Linked DNA regions of Homo sapiens: all the other regions are linked to region 2. Evidence: promoter capture Hi-C in 16 types of primary human blood cells and fetal thymus (Javierre and others, 2016). All regions are on one chromosome and are shown on one strand. Each heading gives the region's core, a stretch centred on a gene start or on the middle of the fragment in contact. The rest is flanking DNA. Distances are from core to core; before and after follow the strand shown.

Region 1 (3,268 bases), core at 121-2,620, 940 kb after region 2:
CTGGCAAGATAACCCCTTTAGAGAAGAGGGTGCTAACTTGGGCACGTTATAAAGGCAGGTCAAGGAATATGAAATTATGAATGTGTAAAGAGGACAGAACCAAGTACAGAGGGAGGCAGTGAAGTCTATCATTCCATGCTCTCAAATGTTAACTTTCTGCTTTATATACATAGCAATGCCTCATTTACCTAATGTTGGGGAGTAAGGTATTATATGTGAAAATTTTATTTTAGCTATACCTTTTGTGGAAAAATTTTTACAATATATGCTTTGGTTATTATTACTAGCATACTGGCAGTAGTTGAGTGAGGCTATGAGATGATCGAAAAATGTAGTTTGTTGTCCACTGTGCTTTTTGAATTATTGAATCTACTTGAGTCGATTCAGTAGTCAGTCTTTGTCTTCTTTCAGTGGTGGAAAGCTGCTCTTTTGCTGCTGTTAGTATCCTTGCTGCCCTCTTTTAAATTTGCAGCTTCTTATCTGTGGAGTAGGAGCTTCCTGACATTGAATGTAAAACAGCTAAATTGGCTTAGTTATGTTCTACCTGCTCTTCTCCAAGTTTTAGGGTATGAACTTTGTAACCACTTATTTTTGTTGCCCAGGGACGTTTTTGTTTGTTTGTTTCTTATCGTTGGTGTAGATAGTGAACGTGTGCTCTGTATAGGTGCATTTATGTTCCTGTAGTTTTCTGTAAAAAAAAAAACAAAATAATATGGAAGTACTTACTCGTGTGGGTTCTTGTTTCAGAAAGCACTGCCAATAATACTTGAAGATCTGATTTCAGCCCTGTCTTGTATCATCCTTGGGCAGTGTGTTAGACAACCTCCTTTCTTCCTTTTAGCATTTCCAAATTGTCTTTACTCTTAATCCCAGCCGATACTAGGAACCAGGTTGGCAATAGCAGTGGCCTTGAAAGGTGGAAGCAGGATATACAGAAGGTGGCAACTTTAAATTGAGTGTATATAATTGGTATACATATTCGCTATTTCTGCATCTTTTATATACTGTATACTTGAATTCATTGTAGGACTTATTTCCCCCTGTCTCTGAAAGAGGCAGTCTTTAAACCAGAGAGTTGCCAGTTTAGAAGAAATTCTTATAACCCTAAAGGTCTTTCTCCTTTGCCCTTCTCTCCTTTTATTCCACAAACACTTATCAGATGCCTCTTACAGGCCCTGCACAGTGCTAAGTTACTTGGAAGTACAAAGCGTGAGTAAAATCTATCCCATCCTCAAAAAACACAATATATTAGAAGAGACAGATGTGCCAAAAAAAAAAAAAAATGTGTGTGTGTGTGTTTGTGTGTGTGTGAGTTCATAGTATAACAGAGGGATCATGCCTGGAGCCACCTAGCCATAATTTCAGCACAGATCTGTTTGAGGTTCTCCTGCTTCTGAGAGTGATCTCCTGTGTGGGCTGTCAGCTTGACGTACCATAGAACATAAGGCTAAAAATGCGAGGTCTATTGTTGTATAAAGTTTATGTGGTTTTCCAAGAACTGTAGTGAATTGAACACTAAAGATGGAAAGCATATGAAAAGCTGAAGGAAAATGTTATAATATTTGTAATGCCGTATTTCAACACTATACAGGAATTACCTTCTATAATCTAGCCTTAAATGGTGGTTCTGTACTGACAGTTGTGCTGTGAAATACCTGGAACTTGGGAAGTGTCATTATACCTGGCTTATTTAAAGGAAAATGCAAATTGTTACTCATTTCCACGTAGTGTCAAGATTACTGCGTGTGTTGGTTTTTTAGAACAGAACTCGCTAGCAGTATGAGCTAAAGTTTTTTTCTTTTTCATTTTTCAAGGAAGAGGGTTGCCCTAAATCAAGGTTTAAATGGGACAGGTTGCAGAGATTGATTTTTTTTCAGTTCACTTATTGAAATTATTCAGTTATTGCCTATTTCATTTTTACTTTCACATCCAGCAAGAAAGACTACCTTAATGCTTCATTAATGCCTGGTAATGGTTTTAGTTGCCTTCCTTCAGAGGGAACTTGTTAGAGAATTTCATATAAGTGATTCTGAGTTTACAGATGTAAATAAATGTTTAAATGGAAGTGAAAACAGTAAGGAAAACCTGACACTTGGACCAATTTGGATTATGTAAGAATTAGATTTTCTACACCTGTACTCTTAAGTTACTCTTAAGGCTTATCTTAAGGGCTTTAGCACATGAAAAGCTGTCATCTTTAAAACACAGAACTAATTTTCCAAACTGAAAACAGTTGTGAAAGGCATTCTATTTTAGCCTTTTTTTGTGAAGTGGGATAAGTTCATGCTTCCCATCTGTTTCAGTTACATTGAGTGTGGTAGAATTGAACTTTGTAGAGAAGGGAAACAGGTTGGCCAAATTAGTGACAGCCTCCCAGTCTTCTGCTTTGCATGACACTCACTCTGAAGATATCTATTTGCCTAGTCTTATCTACCTCTCAAATTTAGGCAAGAATTTGGCTCAGAAATACAAGACTACTAATTACTACTAAACTCTTAGTAATGCAATGTGTGGATTTGGCCCCTCACTATGTAACTGAGAAGACAACATTATGGTATATTGATTCCAATGAGGGTTTTCTTTGTCATTTTTCTCCTCTCTGGAGGTCATCTGGGTTTTTGATATGGTGATAATGACTAGCAAGTGATTACTGTGGGTCATCCAGGCACTAATCTTAGCACAACACATGTAGAGGTCTCATTCTTTTTTTTTTTTTTTTTTTTTTTTTTGAGACAGGATCTTGCTCTGTCACCCAGGCTGGAATGCAGTGGCATGATCTTGATTCACTGCAGCCTCAGCCTCCCGAGTAGCTGGCTCATTCATTTTTAACAACCCTGTGAGTTAGGTAATAGTATTCTTGTTTCATTTTTTTATATGCAGAAACTGAGACCCAGAGAGGTCAGAAGTTAAATATCTTTCCCAAGACCCACATTAGGTGGTAAAGGAAGCATCCAGGCCTAGGCATTCTGAATCCAGAGGACATGCTTTTAACCCCTCTGCTACAGAAAGCTTATATTTAAAATAAGAAGGTGAATTAAGAAGCTATTTCTTAAGTGGATAATTAGCACAGAAAAGAAGAAAAAATATCTATAGATACTGATTAATGCTATTACTTAGTATTAGTTTTTATTTTTAGTTGAAGACCCTCATGTGAAGATGAAAGGAAGAATAGCATGCTGTTGTGGCAGGCAGCAAAGCAGGAGTGGGCTGGTTTTCCCAGGGTACTCAGCATTTACTGAGATAATAAACATGTAATGCTGTTTAATAT
Region 2 (3,453 bases), core at 608-3,107:
TGTTTCGCATACCACTTGTAATGCTGTTTTTAAGATAATTGCTTGGGTAAATAAATTCCTTATACATTGACTAGTAAAGAGATACTCAACTTTGTACATTTGATGCCATATTCACTTGCTGTCTAACTTATGTTACCATGGCATTAATTTAGTATAAATAAAAATGCTCTAGGTCTACTCAGTGCTGAGCCTTGAAATCTCAGCACTCAACATCTCTTATCCACTAAAGCACACACTGTTGTTTACACGTGGAAGACTGACTATGCAGCCAGTCTAGTAAGCAAGCAAGCAAGCAAGCAAGCAGGGTCCTAGATATTAAAAATGACCATTCCTGTAAACCATCAAGCCACAAATCAACAAGCTTAATCACAAAAGTTTCTTGAGGGAACAAAGTTGAAGTAATATCCATTGAGTCATTGTGGAACTATCTGTACTTGTGGTTGATTAGCCAGGTAAGCTGGTTTTTCCTCAGTTTCCTCACCTGTTAAACAAGAGGCAGAATGATGTTCTCTCTAAAACACTTCTTGCTTTGAAATACTATTACTCTAAATAAGACTTTGGAGAAACTCACAAAATACATCCTTGTTAACTCTCAATAAGCCCAAACAATATTCCAGGACCCCACAAAACCAGAAAACTAACAGGACCCCTTGTAGACCAGTCTCTTTGTGCAACGTAGGGAGAAAGGGCGGGGGGGACTAAAGAACCTCCCAAAAGGTATTAAAAATAGCAACATGTAATTATGAAAAATCTTGTTCCACATTAGGTAGCCACATTCAAGAAAAACTGTTGGAGATCTACTATGTCCAAGGCACGGTTTAAGTTATTACTGTTCAATTTTGAAATTATTATTGTTAACTTGTCAGTAATTTCTTAAACCTAAACTGGTGAAACTCTCCTTGGGTGGACATAAAAGTAAAGCCATGGCCAAGGAGGGAGACAGTCTACAAATAAACCAAAAATAAAATACAAGTGACATCATTAAAGGAAAAAAGCCAACACACTGCACAAAGATCAAAGACAAAACAGAGAAACATGTTTGGTTAATACTGGGCTTTGAGTATTTCATGTGCCTGAGAGGCCCGTCCGTCCATCCACACCACACTTCTTCACCATGCTGTTGCAAACCAATGACAAGTTCAGCTTCAGCGCGGACAGGGCGCAGGGCGCAGACCCTGTGCATATCCCAGAATCCCGGACCCACTGCCACTCCACTCTGGGAAGGAAGAAGGCGCTCCCCCTTGGGTGACTGTAAGATAAAGCAGCTTCTTCGATCTCTTTGTCCAATAAGAAAGAAACGTTGGCCCATAAAGAAAGAAAGAAACAAATAAATAGGAAAGGTGTGAGAAGGAAGGGAAGCTCCTTTCTTTTCTGTTTAAATTTCCCGCACCCTTTTACCTCCCCGCCTTCTCAAACGGTCTTTACTTTGAGCAGCAGAGACCCGGACCGCTCAATACCCGGCTATCCCTGGGAGGGTACTTGGAAAGTAGGCGGGACAGGCCGGATGAATAATTCGGTGTCCGACTTTTCCTGCCTGCGGCGCAGTCCCTCCCCGGCTTCGTTACTCGAGTGCACACGCGGCCGGGCTCTCGGCCCTCGATTGCTTCAGCCTATCACCCTGGGATGCCGCCTGCCGCTGCCGCCGCCGCCGCCGCCGCCACCGCCACCGCCACCGCCACCGCCACCGCCGTGGCTGCCGGGTTTGTGGGATCCGCCGCGGAGCAGGAGCCAGAGCTGTGGCCGGAGCTGTGGCCTGAGAGTCAGGGGGCGGGCAGGCTCATTCCAGAAGTGGGGGCCGAGGACAGGCGGGCTAGAACCCGGGGCCACCGCCCCCTACCCCTCCTCAGGCTGAGGGAACGGGCACTCGGAGCTTCTGAGGCGGCGGCGGCGGGAGCCGGTCAGAGGGGGCGGCCCCTGGCGGCGACGCCCCCAAGCCCAGCCCTGCCCGGCCCCGCTCCATCCCCAGCCAGAGCCTGGTCTGACCGCGAGAGACGCCGGCGGGGCTGAAGAAGGCGGCTCCGAGGAGGTGGGAGGGCGAGCCTCCCCTCCCGGGTTCTTCTGCGTCCTCTCCCGGGAGGGACCCACACACACCTGAGCCCGGACCCACCCTTGGTCGGGGCCACGCTGGATCCTCCTCCCGGCCTGGGTCCCGCCCGCCGACTGCAGGTGGGCTGCATCGCCCGAGCCTCGGGCAGTGGGCGACGGGGAAGGAGGTGAGAGGTGTCCGCGCCGGCTGCCGCTCGGGTCCCTGCCCTCGCTGCGCGCTCTCCTCCTCCCCTTACCGCAGGCAGGGCGCGGAGCCGCGCGCCAGCCCGCCCCGAAGCCGCCGCCTCGTCCCCCTCCCGCCTCGGGGCACCATGGAGCTCTCTCCGTCGTCCGGAGGAGCCGCGGAGGCGCTGTCCTGGCCGGAGATGTTCCCGGCGCTGGAGTCCGACTCGCCGCTGCCCCCGGAGGACCTGGACGCGGTTGTCCCAGTCAGTGGAGCCGTCGCCGGTGGCATGTTGGATCGGATCCTTCTGGAGTCCGTGTGCCAGCAACAGAGCTGGGTCCGGGTGTACGGTAAGGACCACAGGCCGTCTTAGAGGCTGGTGTTTCCTATTTTTGCTTGGGCTGAAATTCATTCCCTAAGTCACAGGCTCATTCCCAGTCCTCATCCGTGCTAGGTCAGTTTCCCACATCCCTTTTTGTTCTGGGGGTGCATTTCTGACAAGTTTCTTCAGACTATCACTTGGGCAGGGATGTCACTCAGTATGGTCTTTGGACCTCTTCAGACACCTGCAGTAAGTTTAATGCGGGAGTTGGGCTATCCAAGACGTAATTCTTAGGCGATTACTTCAAGGGAACAGCCAGGCAATCAATCTTCAAGAAGGTATGATGGAAAAACTCCATGAAACCAAGTGAATGGATTTTCGTCTCTTTTTATTGTTGAATGAGGCAAGACTGGAAACCAAGATATTATGAAAAAGCAGAGGATAAGCTAATGAATGAAAAAAATGCAAACTATGTATTTGGTGGGAGCAAGACTAATCTATAACCTCTGCCTGAACCTCACTCTCTCTAAAAGCAACCACTTATTCCAACGGGTGTGGATTGTTTCAGATTACACTATTGTTTCTGAATCTCGTTGTAAAGTGACTGGGTTGCCACTCAGCAGGTTAAAAGTGATGAACACACTAAAACTTTCCCTTTCTGCATTCCTGGTAACCACCTCTTTAATTAAAACTGAATGATGAGATTCTATTAGGGTGAGCCTTGTGGCAGCACTAAAACCATGCTGGTTTTGAAAACTCATAGCTTAAGGATTTATAGCCTGGCATTCAGGACTGAGCTGTGGCTTTCCAAAATATTGAAACGGCAAGATGTTTATCGCCTAGCTCACGTGACTGCAGAAGACATTAGTAACGTGGCTGAGTATAAGATGGCAAATTTGAAGCACCTGGGATCAAACACAAT
Region 3 (3,372 bases), core at 810-3,309, 630 kb after region 2:
TCGACGAGTGCTACTCTAGGCGGCGGCGGCCGTGGCGGTGAAGCGTGAGGCCGGCATCGTCTTTCCGTCCTCTGAGGCGACGGCCGCGGCTGCACAGGTCGGTGGGCTCAGGCCGCGGGGCGGTGCGGGGGAGGGAGGGAGGGAGGGTGGGTACGCGGCGCCCCCCGGGCGGCGCGGGGAATGGCGGCGGCGGCGCTGCGGAGTGTGGCTCTCCCGGCCGCGGGCCCCGGGGCTGCTCGCCCTGCGCGCAGGGAGGGGGCTGCGGAGCTGGGGCTGAGGCTGAGGGAGAAGGGCGCTGGGCGGCGCGCCTCCCTCGGCCGCGGGTTCTCAGAGTCGGAGCGGCCGTGGGGTCCCCGCTCGGGGGCGCCGTCCTGAAGCCGGGGGCGCTGCGACCCCTTGAACCCGCCTCGCTCTCCCTCTTGGGTGGCGGAAGCCCCCAGCCTCCGCCCGCTCTGTTCTGGCGCCCAGCGGCGCCTCAGTCTTCCTTCAGGTGAGCCCGATCCCGGACCTCGGAGCCAGGACCAGCAGAAGCCGGGCCACACCCCCTCCCCTGGCCCTGGCGGCTGCGCCCAGAAGCCTGGCCGCAGAGTTGGCCGCCCGCGAACCCGCGGAGTCGCGGTCAGGGTGACCTGTTGCAGAGCGGCCCGCAGCCCGAGCGGCCCCCGCCAGCCCCGGCCCCGGAGGGGCTGCGTCCTGTGCTGGCCTCGGGCCGGGCGCGCGGGCCGGGTGTGGGGCAGGGGCCGCAGCCCCAGGTCGGCTTGCTCTACGGCCTGGAACCGGGCTCTAGAAAAAAAAGGAGATTCCGAACGTATCTCATCAAACACTTGCAAAGCCGGGAGATCTGTCTGCAAATATCCGGAATTCCATTGCAGTATCGGATTAGGTAGGCTCATAAACACCGTGCTTTTGAGGTGATTTGGAAGAAACGCGAGCCACGAGCGAGGAACTAGTTTCTGGAAAATAGCCGTAAACCTGTGCGGAGCGAATTATTAACCCCCCGCCCCAGCTCCCCCCTCGAAGCTCTTTTCCTGTAGCTGTGTGTTGTGTAGACGCAAGCCAGTTTCAGTGTACGTGGGCGTGTTTGGGAAGAAGCTGCGAGCTGATAGGAGGTACCTAGTACAAATGTTAATTTGTTTGAGTTGGGAGGGGTAAGGGAGGAGGAAGAAAGGGCACTGATGTTAGCTGTGGAGGAGGGGCAATTGAAATACTAAATTTCTGTTAAAAAAAAAAAACCCCAAAAGAAATATCTAATGCCTACTGTGTATTTAAGACCATAAAGTGGAATCACACAAGCAGCAGTTAATTGAGCTTTATCGTTTATGCTCCCTGGATTTTTTTTCCCCAACACTTTAGTTGCTATAGAGAGCCTTTTCTTACCAGTGTTCATGAGTTGACTTGGGTATTTTTCTGTGTCCACCATTAGATCGATTCCTGTTCAAGTTTCTTTGAAGATGACCATCAGAATTTTAGGAAACTTTTCAGCCCGTGTTTGCAGAGTATCGCTGTTAGACAGATCATAGCTTGCTCATTATAAAGCCTGTTCCACTCAAGATCATTATGCTTGTACAAGTGCTATAGAACAAGTGCTATAGAATCATACACATAAGTGTATTACTCTTACGGCTAAATATCTTAATTTAGAATTATGAGGAAACTTCCAAAACTGAGCATCCAAACAGTATTATTTTAACAAAGATAACCTCTAACTCAAGCTTTGTAGGCATGAAGTTTATCATGTAGCTTCAAAGGTCTTTTGAGGCAGATCTAAATATCAAAATGTAAGGGCATTAATGCCATTTGGGATAAACAATTTCAGTGTATTTATTTTAAGCGTAGTTCATTTTTTCTTTTTAAAATTCAGCATAATTTTTGAACGGTAAGATGTGCGTTTTTCCCATTATATTCCACTTTTTTTTTTTTCCTTTTAAGATAGGTTCTCCTTATTTGGCTCAGGCTGGTCTCAGACTCCTGAGCTCAAGCGATCCTCCCGTGTCAGGCTCCCAAGAAGCTGGGACTACAGGCATGCGCCACTGTGCGTTATTTCACTTTTCATTGAATTAAGGAATTTGACTTTTAGTAATACTTTGGGGCAGGACTCTGGAAATACTGTTTAGTTTGCCTAAATTTTTTCAGATTGCAACGTAAGTTTGAAGATAATGCTTGCATTGGCAGAACACAACGTGCTTTTCTAATATTTATTAGTAATACTAGAAAGAATACAACAAATTTTCCTGAGAGAAAACATAACTGAAAAACTGGCTTTGTGAGTCAGATACATATGTGAGTAATATATTTTTGTGTGTGTTTTTAAATACCTGGTACGAGTCTTTTTATTACGTCATTAGAGTTCAGTGTAGTGAATGATGGATATATAGGTGAAATTGTCCTGTTGCAACTTAAAACACTTAAGCTTTTTCCAGAGACTCAGTTCATTCTGCACATGTGTATTGGGTACCTACTTGGTGCCAGTTAGTTCCCTAGAGGTTGGGGACACAACAGGGGAGACACAACAGGGCTTATCATTTAAGCCCTGATGGGGCTTAAATGATAAGTGGGCAAATATGTTTGTTTAAAAGTTTAAGAAGTAGAAACTCCTCTGATAACTTTTTGGTTAAGGATATTGTTTTTTTCTTTCTGAGAATTGTGGGAATTATTGCCTAGCGAACAAAAACATTAAGACAATTGTTTTTAGAATATGCCTATGTTTATATACTTTGGGTTTCTGGTTACCAAGTATACCAAAGATAAACATTCTACCTGAAGTCAGATGATGCGTAGTTTACATGTGGTTAGACAGCCTTATTCTTTTGGTTTATGTAGTTAAATGAATGTTTGCTGAAAATATTCTCTCGGCATTTATTTATAAGGGAATCTAAATTTCTTTTTTGGTCTAAAATTTTAAAATATCACCTTTTTATTTCTGGCTGACTGTGAGTGAACCAATTCCTTGATAATCTGCTTTTTCAGAAATTTTTAAATAACTTTTAAACCATAAACCAAACTATTAATTGAAATTTATTGAATCAAATTTGTTTTCTTTTGTGAGTTAAACTTTAAACCCATTTTCTCCGAAAGTATGCTTTTTTTTTTTTTTTTGCTATGTAAAATAGGCACATAGTTTGGGTTTACTTTTAATTTTAATGATACACAGTTTGAGAATAAGATATTGAAGTGTATCCATTTTTTGAATATGAGATATTTATTGTGTAACGACTGTATTTGGAATAAAATTGTCACTTTAATATGAATACTTTTTTTTAAGTTAATTTTCAATGAAAGATAATTCAAATAGCTTGAAACTACCCCAGCCTGAGTGAAGTTCCTTGGAGAGGAAAATGAATGTATTGCATTACCCTGTAAATTGTTTCTTTA

Evidence for each region. Contacts are between HindIII fragments. The CHiCAGO score rates a contact against its expected background, and 5 or more counts as called.
Region 1: a contact is called between a fragment that was not itself captured here and the fragment with the promoter of RASAL2-AS1 in region 2, in 1 of 17 cell types (M0 macrophages). The highest score is 7.4, in M0 macrophages.
Region 3: a contact is called between a fragment that was not itself captured here and the fragment with the promoter of RASAL2-AS1 in region 2, in 1 of 17 cell types (monocytes). The highest score is 5.5, in monocytes.

The regions. Positions count from the first base shown.
Region 1 is chr1:179,029,611-179,032,878 of GRCh38, forward strand. All of the region lies in intron 1 of FAM20B (FAM20B glycosaminoglycan xylosylkinase), which reads left to right. Among named protein-coding and RNA genes, the nearest start is that of FAM20B, 5.4 kb to the left of the region's middle. RefSeq lists a silencer at 1-58. The HindIII fragment of the contact is 3,274 bases long and covers 1-3,007 here.
Region 2 is chr1:178,092,136-178,095,588 of GRCh38, forward strand. RASAL2-AS1 (RASAL2 antisense RNA 1) reads right to left here and starts at 1,858. Exons shown (of 2, transcript NR_027982.1): 1 at 1,426-1,858; 2 at 1-1,277. It overlaps RASAL2 (RAS protein activator like 2), which reads left to right and starts at 1,969. Exons shown (of 18, transcript NM_170692.4): 1 at 1,969-2,559. The coding sequence starts at 2,358. RefSeq lists an enhancer at 1,445-1,946 and silencers at 1,568-1,617, 1,668-1,967, 2,038-2,197, 2,348-2,407. The HindIII fragment of the contact is 4,675 bases long and covers 360-3,453 here.
Region 3 is chr1:178,725,323-178,728,694 of GRCh38, forward strand. RALGPS2 (Ral GEF with PH domain and SH3 binding motif 2) reads left to right here. Exons shown (of 20, transcript NM_152663.5): 1 at 1-97. It overlaps RALGPS2-AS1 (RALGPS2 antisense RNA 1), which reads right to left and starts at 962. Exons shown (of 1, transcript NR_187252.1): 1 at 1-962. RefSeq lists silencers at 182-301, 502-731 and an enhancer at 272-861. The HindIII fragment of the contact is 698 bases long and covers 1,711-2,408 here.